Regions from separate parts of the Homo sapiens genome. Here all the other regions are linked to region 1. Evidence: promoter capture Hi-C in 16 types of primary human blood cells and fetal thymus (Javierre and others, 2016). All regions are on one chromosome and are shown on one strand. The core of a region is centred on a gene start or on the middle of the fragment in contact, and the rest is flanking DNA. Distances in the headings are between cores, read along the strand shown. Region 1 holds the start of CKM (creatine kinase, M-type). Region 2 holds the start of PPP1R37 (protein phosphatase 1 regulatory subunit 37). Region 3 holds the start of NKPD1 (NTPase KAP family P-loop domain containing 1).

Region 1 (4,155 bases), core at 1,109-3,608:
TCCGGAGTCTTAGATCAAGGGCCTGGCTCTGCCGTATCCCAGTTGGGTGAGCCTGGACTAGTCATTCTTGCTGGAAACTCAATTTCCCCAGGTGGAAAACGGGCCCCTCCCGGAGGCTGGAAAAATATTTTGTGTGGGTAAGAGTGTAGGTTCTGGAATCAGCCCAGGGTTTGATTCCCAGCTCTGCTACCTACAACCAGCTGTGTGGCCAGGGGCAAGTTGCTTAACCTCTGTGCCTCAATTTACTCATCTAGAAAATGAGGATCCTAACAGCACTTGCCGCATGGGAGTGTTGAAAAGATTAAATGTGTGAATACAGGTGTAGCTCTCGGAACAGTGCCTGGTACACAATAAGCATTATTTCACTTAGCTGCTATTATTATTATTATTATTATTATGTTTGAGACAGAGTCTCGCTCTGTCGCCCAGGCTAGAGTGCAGTGGCATAATCTCAGTTCACTGCAACCTCCACCTCCCAGGTTCAAGCAACTATCCTGCTTCAGCCTCCTGAGTAGCTGCAACTACAGGCGTGTGCCACACCTGGCTATTTTTTTTTTTGGTATTTTTAGTAGAGTTGGGGTTTCGCCATGTTGGCCAGGCTGGTCTTGAACTCCTGAACTCAAGTGATCCGCCCACCTCTGCCTCCCAAAGTGCTGAGATTACAGGCATGAGTCACGGCACCTGGCCTGTTGTTGTTATTTTAAAGGTTCGTGCGAGGAGCTGGTGAGAAGGTGGAGGTGAGGGTGCTGCTGGGAGTATGTGAGCAGGTTCTTGGATTATCAATCCAAAGACAAAGGGCTGGGTCGGGGGAGGGCTGGGTAGCTGCCCCCACCTCTGCCTGCTGACAGTTCTCCCACAGGGCTCAGAAGGGAAGAAAAGCTCAGCCTCTGGGTCGTCAGAGGCAGGTTCAAATCCCACCTATGCCATTTCCCTGCTGTGTGACCCCAGGCCAGTCACTAGGCCTCTCTGGACCTCTGTCTCCTGTGAACTGAGCCTGCCCCGTAGGATTGCCAGGATCCTCTGAGCTTGGCCATGAGGTTGGCTGAGCACAGGCCCTGGCATGGAGTTGGAGCCTGGAACCCTGGTGGCTGCTATTATTGTTATTTGTTATTACTACTTTTTTGCAGAGATGGGGTCTCACTATGTTGCCCAGGCTGGTCTGGGACTCCTGGCCTCAAGTGATCCTCCAGCATCGGCCTCCCAAGATGCTGGGATTATGCGTGTGAGCCACTGCGCCAGGTCCTACTGTTATTATTATTTTATTCACTGGACCCAGAAAGGAGAAGGGACCCAGAAAGGAGAAGGGGCCTCCAGCAGCGGTGGGAGACGGGGATGGGAAGCAGGTGGGATTGTGGGAGGGAGATTGGGACCACGGTGAGCTGAAGCCAGGGAAGAGGAACAGGGACCCGCCAAAGACCTTGGGTGCTGCTGTCCAGGGTGGTTATTTTTAGAATCTGGCAACTGCCTGCCATCCCACCCCCAGCTGCTGCCCCGCCCCACCCCCACATTCCGGGGCTCGGCTTGCACCAAGTCAGCAGGCCCAAGACAGGTGGGCCAGGGTGGCTGGGAGGACACGGGTCCAGGCCTCGGGGCTCAAGGACATCCTGGGATGGCAGCCCAGACCCCCTCCCTTCAGAGGATGCCCCCCTAATCCCTGCCAGGGACACCCCAGGAGAGGGCACTGAGGCAGGGTGGTGACCCCCCCCACAAGAGACATAAGCAGAAAGCCCCAGAGCCACACACCCCCACCACCGCAGACTCCCCAGATCACACTGTAAACTAAGTCACACAGTCACACTTCCAAACTCAAGGACATGCCCAGGACACTCATGTGTCCGCTACTAAGTCAGAAACAAGGTCACAGGGACCCACACAGTAGCAAACGCAAAGAAAGCCTGCGACACCTGCTCTTGCAGACTCTGCTAGGCGACAGACACACCTCCCACGGCTTGTGGCGCCAGTGTTGGCGACAAACTGTAATGAACACAGGCCTGGCTCAACAGCCCCTTGCAGGGGGTGACAGTTGGCAGCTGTCAGGACCCCTTTCATCTCGGATCCCTCCCCATAACCCAAGACTTGTGCCGCAGAAATCACAGGTCCCAGTGGGGGGTTCAGGCAGCCTCACAGATGGAGGGGCCTCCCAGACACACAAGGGTCAACCTTCCCACGCACCGACCTGCCTTTGTATAGGAGGATGTTGGTGGAGCAAGGGGTGACACACAGACCCTTTCCCAAGCCAAGCCTCTAGCACCCACAGAAATCCCCTACTCTGGCCCCCACCCAGATTCCCGCCCCGTGCAGTACCTGGCTGGGCTGGGCTGAAGGGGGGCTGTCTGTATCCTGGAGGTGACACTGACCCAAAGGAAGGGCCAGCAGCCGTGGCCTTATATAGGGGGACCTAGGCTGTGCTATTGGCTGGGAGGGGTTGTCCCCAGGGAGGAGTTCTGGAGGGCAGCTGAGCCTCTCACCTCCCTGCTCCCGCACCATACCCACCCTGAACCCAGGCATGCTTTGCGCCCAGCCCCATGGCCTTGTATGGGCTGAGCCGCCCCAGGGGCTGGGCTCACGCCCCCCCACCAAGCTGATACCCTGACCAAGTGCTGAGTTGGGCTGGCGGTGGGGACAGCTGGCCCCCCGCCGGGAACATGGGACGGTGGCTGGGAACGTCCCAAGCACGTAGAAGCCACCGTCCCCTGGCCCCTGAGTCTCCTTCAGCCACCAGCCCTTCCTGTGGCCCTCGGCTCCCCCTGTGCCCCCTGGGCCCTCACCCCTACCCGAGTCCCAGCGGCACCTCGGGGAACCAAGGTGTGGCTCCAGGAGGAGCAGATACCCTGTGAGCTGGAGGAAGCAGAGGCCGGGAGAAGGACCAATTGCAATGGAGGGCAGTCTAACCCCAGAAACCCGCGCTTGGGCGCCCCTTCCTCCTAGGGACTGAGTGGAGGGGAAACTGAGGCTGGCTGAGTTGGAGAGATTCAAACTCAGGGCAAGGGTGGGAGGCGGTGGTCACCCTCCCCCCCACTTAACCCTCGCCCCCTCGGTGCCACTGGGAGATTTCCGCTGTGCGGGGGACAGGGAGGGTCTCGGTCGCCGGGAAAGGAGTTATTTTTAGAGGGCGCTTTGCTGTCTCCTCTGCCGCAAAGGCCGAGACCCGAGGCGCTGGGTATGGGGGGGTTCGGGGGCAGGTGTTGGAGGGGGGTTCGCCACGTGTCCTGGTTAATTATAACCGGGCGTCTCGGGTGTCCTCGGGCCTCGCCTCCTTACAAGGGCAGCCACGGGGCCCTGGGTGGCCGCTCCCACCTCCCGGGGAAGGGGGCTGGGCAGCGACGCCGTTCAGAGCGCGGGCGCCAGACTCGCGCAGATCTGGGCAGAGCAAGCGCTCTCGGCGCCTCGGCTGTGAGCAAGGACTTCCAGGGCTGAGAGGGGGGTTCTGTGGAGGAGAGTACAGTATAGAGGAAGCCGCTTTCTCCTCCTGGGACGCGCCAGGATTGCAGGCTGATCGGGTCTCCTCCTCCAGGGAGCTCCCAGGATTGCGACGAAGAAAAGAATGTCCCTTCCCTCTGAGTTCCTCCCTATCCCAGGGTCTCCTGGGTCTCCTTCACATCTTCTTAGGCAGGTGAGGACTGGCTTAGAGAAAGGGAGCCTCTGTGCCTCTCCCTCAGACTCCTGATCTGAGGGGGGAGGGGAGAGGGGTGCTTTAGAAATATTTACATGGGGCCCAGCCCTTTCCCAGCAAGCTCAGATTGCCGAGGGTCTCCTTCACGGTTACGGAAACTGAGGCCCAGAAAACCAAATGGAACTGGTCTCGAAACAGGGATCTATCAGGCACTTCCTGAGGCTACAACAAAACACAAAACCCCCGCCGTCCTGGAGGTGATAGTGCAAGAGGGTCACAGATGAGGGGACGGCACAGCAGCAGGGGAGGTCGAGGCAGGCCTCTTTGGGAAGATGACATCTGAGCAGAGACCTGAAGGAGAACAGGGAGCCAGCCATGTGCGGCTCTGGGGGGAACAGCAGGTGCAAAGGCGCTGAGGTGAGAATGGCTGGGCACATCTGAGGACAGACAGGAAGGAGGCCAGGGGACTGGAGCAGATGGGGCCAAGGAGAGAGTGGGAGGAAGAAGATGAGGTTGGAGGGGAGACAGGAGCAGACCCATGG
Region 2 (4,155 bases), core at 274-2,773, 230 kb before region 1:
CCCAGTTCCCTTTTATGGTTTCAGCCCCGCCTCCTCTAGTTAGCCGGGTGCGCTTCGGCAAGCGTGGCGAAAGTGCGGCGGCGAATGTCAAGCGTTGGGTCTGAGCCTAGGGGTGTGGCTTGAGCTCACGCTGGTTCTTTCTTGCCTCGGTGATCCACCAGCCTTGTCACCCAGGATTTAGGTTGGCAGATTCGTCTCTCGCCTTTGGAATTTCTACCTTCTCCTAGGTTTTGTTTTTTAAAATCAGGCCTATGATACCGCTCATGGGCTCATATTTATTTTAGCATTGTAATTTAAGTTGTATTTTATGCAACTCTACCCCGATACAGAGAGCTGTTGATGTAACTGCAGCGAGCAAATGGAGGACTAGAGACTAGCGAAGGGGCCGAGACTTCGTCTCCAGAGTATCCCTGTCAGCATCCATCAACTGCACTCATATATTGAATGCAGCTCCTATCCGCCTTTCTTTTCGACTTCTTCATGCCGTTACCACTCTTCATCAGTTAGTCTAGCCTCAATGTTTTCATTTATTTCCTTTGTTTTTTTTGGGGGGGGGGGAACGGAGTCTTGCTCTGTCGCCCAGGCTGGAGTGCAGTGGCACGATCTCGGCTCACTAAAAGCTCCGCCTCCCGGGTTCACACCATTCTCGTGCCTCAGGCTCCCGAGTAGCTGGGACTACAGGCGCCCGCCACCACGCCCGGCTAATTTTTTGTATTTTTAGTAGAGACGGGGTTTCACCGTGTTAGCCAGGATGGTCTCGATCTCCTAACCTCGTGATCCGCCCGTGTCGGCCTTCCAAAGTGCTGGGATTACAGGCGTGAGCCACCGCGCCCGGCCCATTTCTTTCCTTTCGTTGAGACAGGGTCTGGCTCTGTCTACCAGGTCGGAGTGCAGGGGCGCGATCATAGCTCAGTGCAGCCTCAACCTACCGGGCTCAAGCGATCTTCCCACCTCCCAAGTAGCTGGAACTACAGGCTCCTGTAACCAGACCCTGCTAATTTTTAAATTTTTTGTAAAGACGGGGCCTTGCTATGTTGCCCAGGCTGGTCTCGAACTCCTGGACTCAAGCGATCTTCCCGCCTCAGCCTTCCAAAGTGCTGGGATTATAGGCGTGTGCCGCCGCGCCCCGCCAGGTGTTTTCAGTTCTATGCACTCCATTCCCTGGGCTCTTGACGAATGTGCGGGAGCTGAATATTCGTTATTTGGACTCCGGCAGGAAGGCGTGGGCTCAGCTTCGCGCTTGCGCGCTGCTCTTGGAGACGGCGTCTACTTCGCCCCGCCCCTCATAGTCTGCAGTTCCGGCTCTGCAGATTCGCTGCTCACGTTTCTTTTTTCCGTGGCCCTTCCTGCCCTTTGTTTCTCTCTTCATGTCACCCGCGGGACAACTCTACGTGCAAGTCGCTGAAATCGATTTTCTGCTTCTTATAGTAAGCGGCGGGCTCGCCAGCCTCGAGCGAAAGTGTGACTGCGAACGGGCAGGCGCGCGCGGGGCTCGGCGGAGGCGCGCTTGGGCTCCCGGCGGCGACGACTACGACCACTAGGAGAGCGGACGGAGGCGGCGCCTGAAGCGGCGGCGGAGCCCATGCCCCGGGACGGCGGGCGGACCCGGAGAGACAAATCCGGGGCCCGGGGCATGTCCCCGGGGCCCCCGTGAGGAGGCGGCGGCGGCTATGGAGATCGCGCCGCAGGAGGCGCCGCCCGTGCCGGGCGCGGACGGCGACATTGAAGAGGCCCCAGCTGAGGCCGGGTCTCCCAGCCCCGCGTCGCCCCCCGCCGATGGGCGCCTCAAGGCTGCAGCCAAGCGCGTCACATTCCCGTCCGACGAGGATATCGTGTCTGGAGCAGTGGAGCCCAAAGACCCCTGGAGACATGGTAGCTACCGCGGGTGAAGCGGGGGCGGGCTCGAGAGGGACCCGGGAGTCGGGAGGGATCGGTGCAGGGCCCGGCTCGAGGTGGCGTTCAATAGATTGCACCTAATGGTGAATAAGGGGACAGTCGTCAGTTTAGAACCGTAGTCTGTTAGAAAGGGGGTGGCTATGGAGTTGGGAAGGTGAAAAGTATCTGGTTTCTGCCGCACCCCACCCACCCGAGACAAAGATGGTGATCGTTTTAGGGTTTAAAACGATGAGCAATTAAAGAAAGTTTGGTGTTTTGTCAGATGTAGAGTGTGGCAGCCTTTGCGTTCGTAGTTCCACCAGAGAAGGAGAGAAGGAGCAGTTGAGAGGAGGAGCGGGTCAACACTGGGCCTGAAAGGGCAGTTGAAAGAGTTTGATGGGTCTATGGGGGTAAAAAGAGGTTAAGTTGCTGGTCTGCAAGCCTTGGGGCAAGGAGTGGTCGTGTTGGCCACTTTCTTGGCTGGAAAGAGGGAGACTATAAACTTGGACTGTGGCTATAGAGGACTTGGTAAAAAGGAGTCAAGATAAGGTCCCAGAAGAGGAGCAGAGGTGGTGGTCAATTTGTGGTTGGGTGAGGGAGAAAGAGGCAGTGTGGTTTTTATGTTTTCTTTTTTATTGAGACAAGGTCTCACTACATTGCCCAGGCTGGTCTCGGACTTCTGGGTTCAAGCTGTCCTCCCTCCTTGGCCTCCCAGAGTGTTGGGATTACAGGTGTGAGCCACCGCCGCCTGCTGCAATGTGGTATTAAGAAGAAAAGCCAACGCCTACCGCCGCCTCCTCCTCCAAAAAAAAGAGAAGCAGAAGGAAGGCTGTCAGTCATTCAGGAGCAGAGGATGTTTGGGACATGGCTACGGAAGGGTCCTCTTGTTCCTTCCTGAGAAAGAATTGGGGGATGGCCGGGTGCATTGGCTCAGGCGTGTAATCCCAGCACTTTGGGAGGCCAAGGTGGGTGGATCACCTGAGGTCAGGAGTTTAAAACCAGCCTGGCCAACATGGGGAAACCCCGTCTCTACTAAAAATACAGAAATTGGCCGGGCATAGTGGTGCACACCTGTAATCCCATCTACTCAAGAGGCTGAGGCAGGGAGAATCGTTTGAACCCGGGAGGTGGAGGTTGCAGTGAGCTAAGATCACGACATTGTACTCCAGCCTGGGTGACAAGAGCAAAACTCCGGCTCAAAGAAAAAAAAAAAAAGAATTGGGGGATGTTATCAAGTCAGAAATTGGAGTTGCTGGCCAGTAGCAGGTGAGAGAGATGAAAAAGTTGGCTACTTGAAGTGTTGGGAGAGAGGGCCAGCGCACTGGAGAGGGTCAGGTCAGTGTTGGAGCTGAAAGGAGTGTGTTGGAGCCATAGGGCTGGGAAAGTGGAAAGTCGCTTGGGACATGCAGGGCAGTGTTGAGTCCATTTTGTGCTGGAGAAGTCTGTCAGTTCTCCTGGGGTGGAGCCCATGAAGTGAGGGATCAGACTGGCTGTGGTGGCCGTGGTTCTGTAGAAGCTGATCTGCCGGCCCTGGGCAAGGGGAGAAACTATTGCCAGTCTGTGGACAATGGAGGAATTGGTGGCTTTGATGTGAGGGTGGGAAACATGGTAACTGGAAACTGAACACACAGGGAGTCCATCATGAATGACAGTTTGGCTACTTATTATAATTTTTTAGACGGAGTCTCCCTCTGTCGCCCAGGCCAATTCTCCTGCCTCAGCCTCCTCAGTATCTGGGATTACAGGCACCTGTCATCACACCTGGCTAAAAATGTTTGTATTTTTAGTAGAGTTGGGGGTTTCACCATGTTGGCCAGGCTGGTCTCGAACTCCCGACCTCAGGTGATCTGCCCACTTAAGCCTTCCAAAGTGCTGGGATTACCGGCATGAGCCACCGTGCCCGGCTGGCTAGTTATTCTTAAAGAGGCAGTGGTTAAATTAAGACTTTTGGGCCGGACGCCATGGTTCATGCCTGCAACCCCAGCACTTTGTCAGGCCAAGGTGGGCAGATCACCTGAGCCCAGGAGTTCAAGACCAGCTTGGGCAACAAGGTGAAACCGCGTCTCTGCAAAATATACGAAAATTAGCCAGGTGTGGTGGTGCACGCCTGTAGTCCCAGCAACTCAGGAGGCTGAAGTGGGAGGATCATTTGAGCCCAGGAGGTCGATAGTGCAGTGAACTGTGATTGCGCCACTGAACTCCAGCTTGGGTGACAGAGACCCGGTCTTAAAAAAAAAAAAAAAAAAAAGAGTTTTGGCACTAGGAGCCAGCCAAGTCCTT
Region 3 (4,155 bases), core at 551-3,050, 160 kb before region 1:
GTAGAACCTGGGGGCCAGAGTATTCTTGGGAGCCCCAGAAACCCCTCAAAAAGTAAGATTATGTGCGGGGGAGGTATGGGCAGGGGAGGGACCCAGGGTCTGTGCTGTCCCATGGCGGGGGAGCAGGGAAGGTGCAGGCTTGGACTTCAGCTGGGGGCAGAGAGAGGACGCCTGAGGTTGGGGCTTCAATGGAGGCTGGTGCCTGCCACAGCAGATTCCTGGATCCCTGGGGGGTGCCGCCAGTGCAGGGGTCAGGGAAACTGAGAAGATCCATTGGGAGCTGGCCCTGGCTGGCCCAGGGAGGCCGGAGTGATGGGTGGTGGCGTGGAGAGGGGTAGGCCAGGGATTTGGGTGGGGGGTGGACCTTGTCCCCAGCTCGGGCCAGGGTGGCAGGAAGGGTGGTGACCTGGGAAGCTCCAGCCCTCGCCCTAGCCCTGAGGAGGCTGAATCAGCCCCAGTGGGAGGGCACTGCCCCCTCCCCACCCTGAACAAGATCACCTGTGGTCACCACCAGAAACTGGGCCCAGCCTCATCCAGACATGTTCAGTGGGGGGGCTCCCTCTCCTACCCCTCACTCCCAGCACACTGCTCCCCTCCAGGCTGGAGGCCATCCACACAGGCCTCAGGGTTTGGAAACGGGGCAGGGCAGGCCAGGCGGCCCCTGCTTCCAACTCCAGCCCAGGCTCCTATCTTTGGGCCCGCAGGCCCTGTGGTCCGGGTCCTGGGTCCCAGGCCCTGCTGCTACACAGATGCCTCTGGGTGGAGTGCAAGTGGCTTTTCTCTCCTGGGGATGACAGCTCCCCTTCTGTTCCTCCATTCACTCTGGCTTCCTCACAGGCCTCTGTCGGCCATCACCCGCCCCCAAACTGAACCCGTACCTTTTCGGTGCCCCAACTCTGGGTCCCAGAAGTAGTGCCCGTTGGGGCTCTGGGCATCCTTGGCGAAGTGGACTTTGTAATGTTTGTGCATGGCAGCCGGGCAGCTGGGTGCTGGGGGCCTGCTCCTGAGGCAGGAGGGAGCACACAGGCTTGGCGTAGCCTCTGGGGCACGAACAGCAGAGAGCTGAGGTCAGGGTCCCTGCCCTGCCCGACAGCTTGGACAGGGGAAAGGCCAAGTCCCAGATGCTGGGTTCCTAGGTCACTTGGGAGAAGGGGGTAGAGGTGGCCTTCAGGGTACAGTGAGGGGCAGGATAAGGAGGGATGGCCAGAGGAGGGAACGGAGAACCGCTGGGGTTGGCTAGGGGTTAATTTGAGGCTGGGTGTTGGGAAGCTCCTGGGAGTTTCCAAGAGGCTAGGACACTGGGGAGTGCTGAGCAGACATGGGCTGGGGAAATAGGGGGTCCGGTGTGGTGGCTGAGTGACCAAGGGGTCATTAAGGTGTGGGCGCTGTGGGAGGCTGGCACGCTTTGGAAGGACATGGAGCTAGTGAGGTGAGCTGGAGAGCAGATGAGAAGCAGGGTGAGTGAAAATCAGAGCTGGGTACCTGTGGGCATTGAATGATACGGTGGAGGGGGAATTGTGAGGGAGCAATGAAATCGCGGTGGTCCAATTTGGGGAGAGGCTCAGCAAACTCGGGCAAGATGGGTGTACCGCGTTTCCAATGTGAAGAGCCGAAAGCAGGACAGGGAAGGATGCTGTGTGGGGGACAGGGATAGGGAAAGGCTGAGGGGCAGAGGAAACTGGGGTGCTGAGAGTTGGTAGCCTGCCCACCACTCCCCACCCCCAGTCCCAGTCCCACTCGTACCTGACGGTGGCCTCACGGCCCCAGCTGCCTGCCCCACGAGCAGCTGCCACACCAGCCCGGACTGTCAGCGCAGGCCCATCCAGATGGAGGCCTCAGCCCAGTGCCCGCCTGACCGGTTTGCCTGCCTGTCCCCGCCCCTTCCCCAGCGCCTGCCTGTCCCAGTGCTCTCTGCTCTCGAGGACTGGGACTCCGACTGGACTCAGTCTTGTGTCCCCATCCCTGGTAAGGAACGGAGATGCATCCCGCAGCACTGCCTCAATCTCCTTAAGGCAGCCACAGGCCCAGGCACTTCTGCTGGTGTGGGGGGGACAGGGAGCTGGGATGCCAGCTCCTCCGTGGCCCAGGTATGTGACCTTGGGCAGGTGACTTCACTCTCCGAGCCATGGCTTCCTCATTGCTGAGTGGGCACCTGCCTCTCGTGGCTGTCGCGAGGGAGGCACTGGGTGGGAGTCCCCTCAGCTCAGGGCCTGGCGCACCTGACCCGGGGCTGTGCTGACCCATTTACCTGGCGCTGTTCTAAATGGATGTCCATAGGACAAGGGCAACAGCACACACATCAAGGCTTGCTACACCATAGCCCCGTCTTCCTCTCCACCACCCAGGGGGCCAGGTGTGATGCCCGCTTCACAGATGAGGACACTGAGGCCCAGAGAAGTGAAGTCCTCGGCCCCAGGGCACACAGAGGCAGGGCGGGGATTTGGAAGCAGTCAGTGGTTGCTACTCCCAGGCTCGCCAAGGCTCTGTCTCCTGCCCTCGGGGCCAGCACTCAGTGACTGCCTCCCCACAGATGCCCTCTGAGGGGTGAGGGCCGGGGTAAGGCTGGGCAGGAGATGCCCTGAAGGCCCCTCGGCTCTCTGGGGCCCCGGCTCCCTGTGGCTGCTGGCGTAACGGGGTCAACAGTTGCTTCCCTGACAGACGGGGTGCTCCGATGGGGATGGGGGAGGCAGCCCCAGAACAGTGCCCAGGACAAGATAAAGGGAACCCACCCAGCCCTGAGTTCTGCCCAGGTGACCAAACACTGCTCCCTACGGCCAGAGCCAGGGCCCTTCCTGCGACCTGGGACCCCGTCTCCTCCCCCACCCTTCAAGCCGGTTGCTCTGGGAAGGTTCCTCCCTGGCCCACCAGGGAGGCGGGGCTGGCATCTGAGCGTGGGCATCTGCAGTGGGCCTCCGTGCCAACCCCCCACACCCCCGGCCCGATCATGAAGCGTGGCCCAATGTAAATGAGCCGTCTCCGCAGGACGAGATTGCCCCGGGCTGGGAGCACAGTGGCCAGGAGGCTGCTGGACACTAGGGGGAGCAGGCGTTTGGGGAGTGGGCCAGGCGGGCAGCACTGCAGAGGCAGACACAGGACACAGCTACACTCAGCCAGGTGGAATAGGAAGGGGTGACCCAGGCAGGGCCTGACGGGGTGACTGGACCCCACTCTACAGGGGAGGTTCTTTAGCAAGGGGCCCCTTTCTCATCCCATTTGGGGTTCACCCCCAGCCTTGGTGGGCAGCTCTGAGCCTGGGGCACTTACCCATGTCAGGCAGCGGGCGGCGAAGCCCAGGAGTCCCCAGATGCTACAGATGCGAGCGGGGTGGGAGGGGGCAGCATAAGGGCCACTCTGCCCAGGGACGGGCAGCAGGAGTGCGTAGGGGCCGCGTGTGTCCATGGGGGTGTCTGGCCTCCCCCTACCCCATGCATCCCCAGCCCTGGCAGCCCCAGCCCGACCTGGCCTACACTCCGGGCACTCCCAGCCCTGCTCCCCAGGAAGACGCTCCGTTCTGTGCACATCGCCGGGCAGAGGGCAGCCCCAGACTTGTTGACTTGGCAGAGGTGCCAGTAAGGCCGCCCATGCCGGAGGCCAGCATCCCTCTGCCAGGAGCACGGGGAGGGAGGGAGTGGAGGGGGACGTGGCAGGGGAGGGAAGGTCTGAGGGGCATGGGAGCCAGAGAGGGTACCCACTCCCCTGCAGGACCTGTGACAGTCGGTCCACAGATCCTCCCCCACTGCTCTGAGTCAGATTCCACACACACAGCCTTTATTGAGCAGCTACTGGGCAGTGACGCTGCCGAGGCGGGAATCCCACCACAGTCCTGACCGCAGCTGGGACCCCTTTGCCTCCTCTGACACCCCCACCTCAATTTGATACCCACTTCCTGAGCAAATGTGACCCCTAGGGCCTGGGATTCCCAAGACCACCCCGAAATGCAGCGGCCCCACCGTCTCCTGAGGCCGGTGAGGCCAGGGGCAGCAGTGCGGCTCAGCAGGTGCGAGGCAGGCTTAGGATTTCGGAATCACCACCTGGAACTTACCTGGAAGAGAAGGCCTGGCTTAGGCTTGAGGATGGGATGGGGGAGGCAGAGGGCACCTGGACGGCTCTTAGGCGCTCACCCCCGTCCTGCACTGACACCCCAGTGGCTAGGTT

The links. The method cuts DNA at HindIII sites, captures the fragments that hold promoters and counts their contacts. A CHiCAGO score of 5 or more calls a contact.
Region 2: the fragment with the promoter of PPP1R37 here is called in contact with the fragment with the promoter of CKM in region 1 in 5 of 17 cell types (M1 macrophages, endothelial precursors, megakaryocytes and 2 more); the score reaches 8.4 in M1 macrophages.
Region 3: the fragment with the promoter of NKPD1 here is called in contact with the fragment with the promoter of CKM in region 1 in 2 of 17 cell types (erythroblasts and M1 macrophages); the score reaches 6.2 in erythroblasts.

What each region holds. Positions count from the first base shown.
Region 1 is chr19:45,320,517-45,324,671 of GRCh38, forward strand. It overlaps CKM (creatine kinase, M-type), which reads right to left and starts at 2,359. Exons shown (of 8, transcript NM_001824.5): 1 at 2,305-2,359. RefSeq lists an enhancer at 3,083-3,325. The HindIII fragment of the contact is 13,711 bases long and covers 1-4,155 here.
Region 2 is chr19:45,091,656-45,095,810 of GRCh38, forward strand. It overlaps PPP1R37 (protein phosphatase 1 regulatory subunit 37), which reads left to right and starts at 1,524. Exons shown (of 13, transcript NM_019121.2): 1 at 1,524-1,872. The coding sequence starts at 1,671. RefSeq lists enhancers at 1-126, 1,127-1,176 and silencers at 1-79, 1,597-1,806. The HindIII fragment of the contact is 14,988 bases long and covers 1-4,155 here.
Region 3 is chr19:45,159,182-45,163,336 of GRCh38, forward strand. It overlaps NKPD1 (NTPase KAP family P-loop domain containing 1), which reads right to left and starts at 1,801. Exons shown (of 5, transcript NM_198478.4): 1 at 1,744-1,801; 2 at 879-1,040. The coding sequence starts at 969. It overlaps TRAPPC6A (trafficking protein particle complex subunit 6A), which reads right to left. Exons shown (of 6, transcript NM_001270891.2): 6 at 3,752-4,042. The coding sequence ends at 4,011. RefSeq lists an enhancer at 1,451-2,083. The HindIII fragment of the contact is 37,147 bases long and covers 1-4,155 here.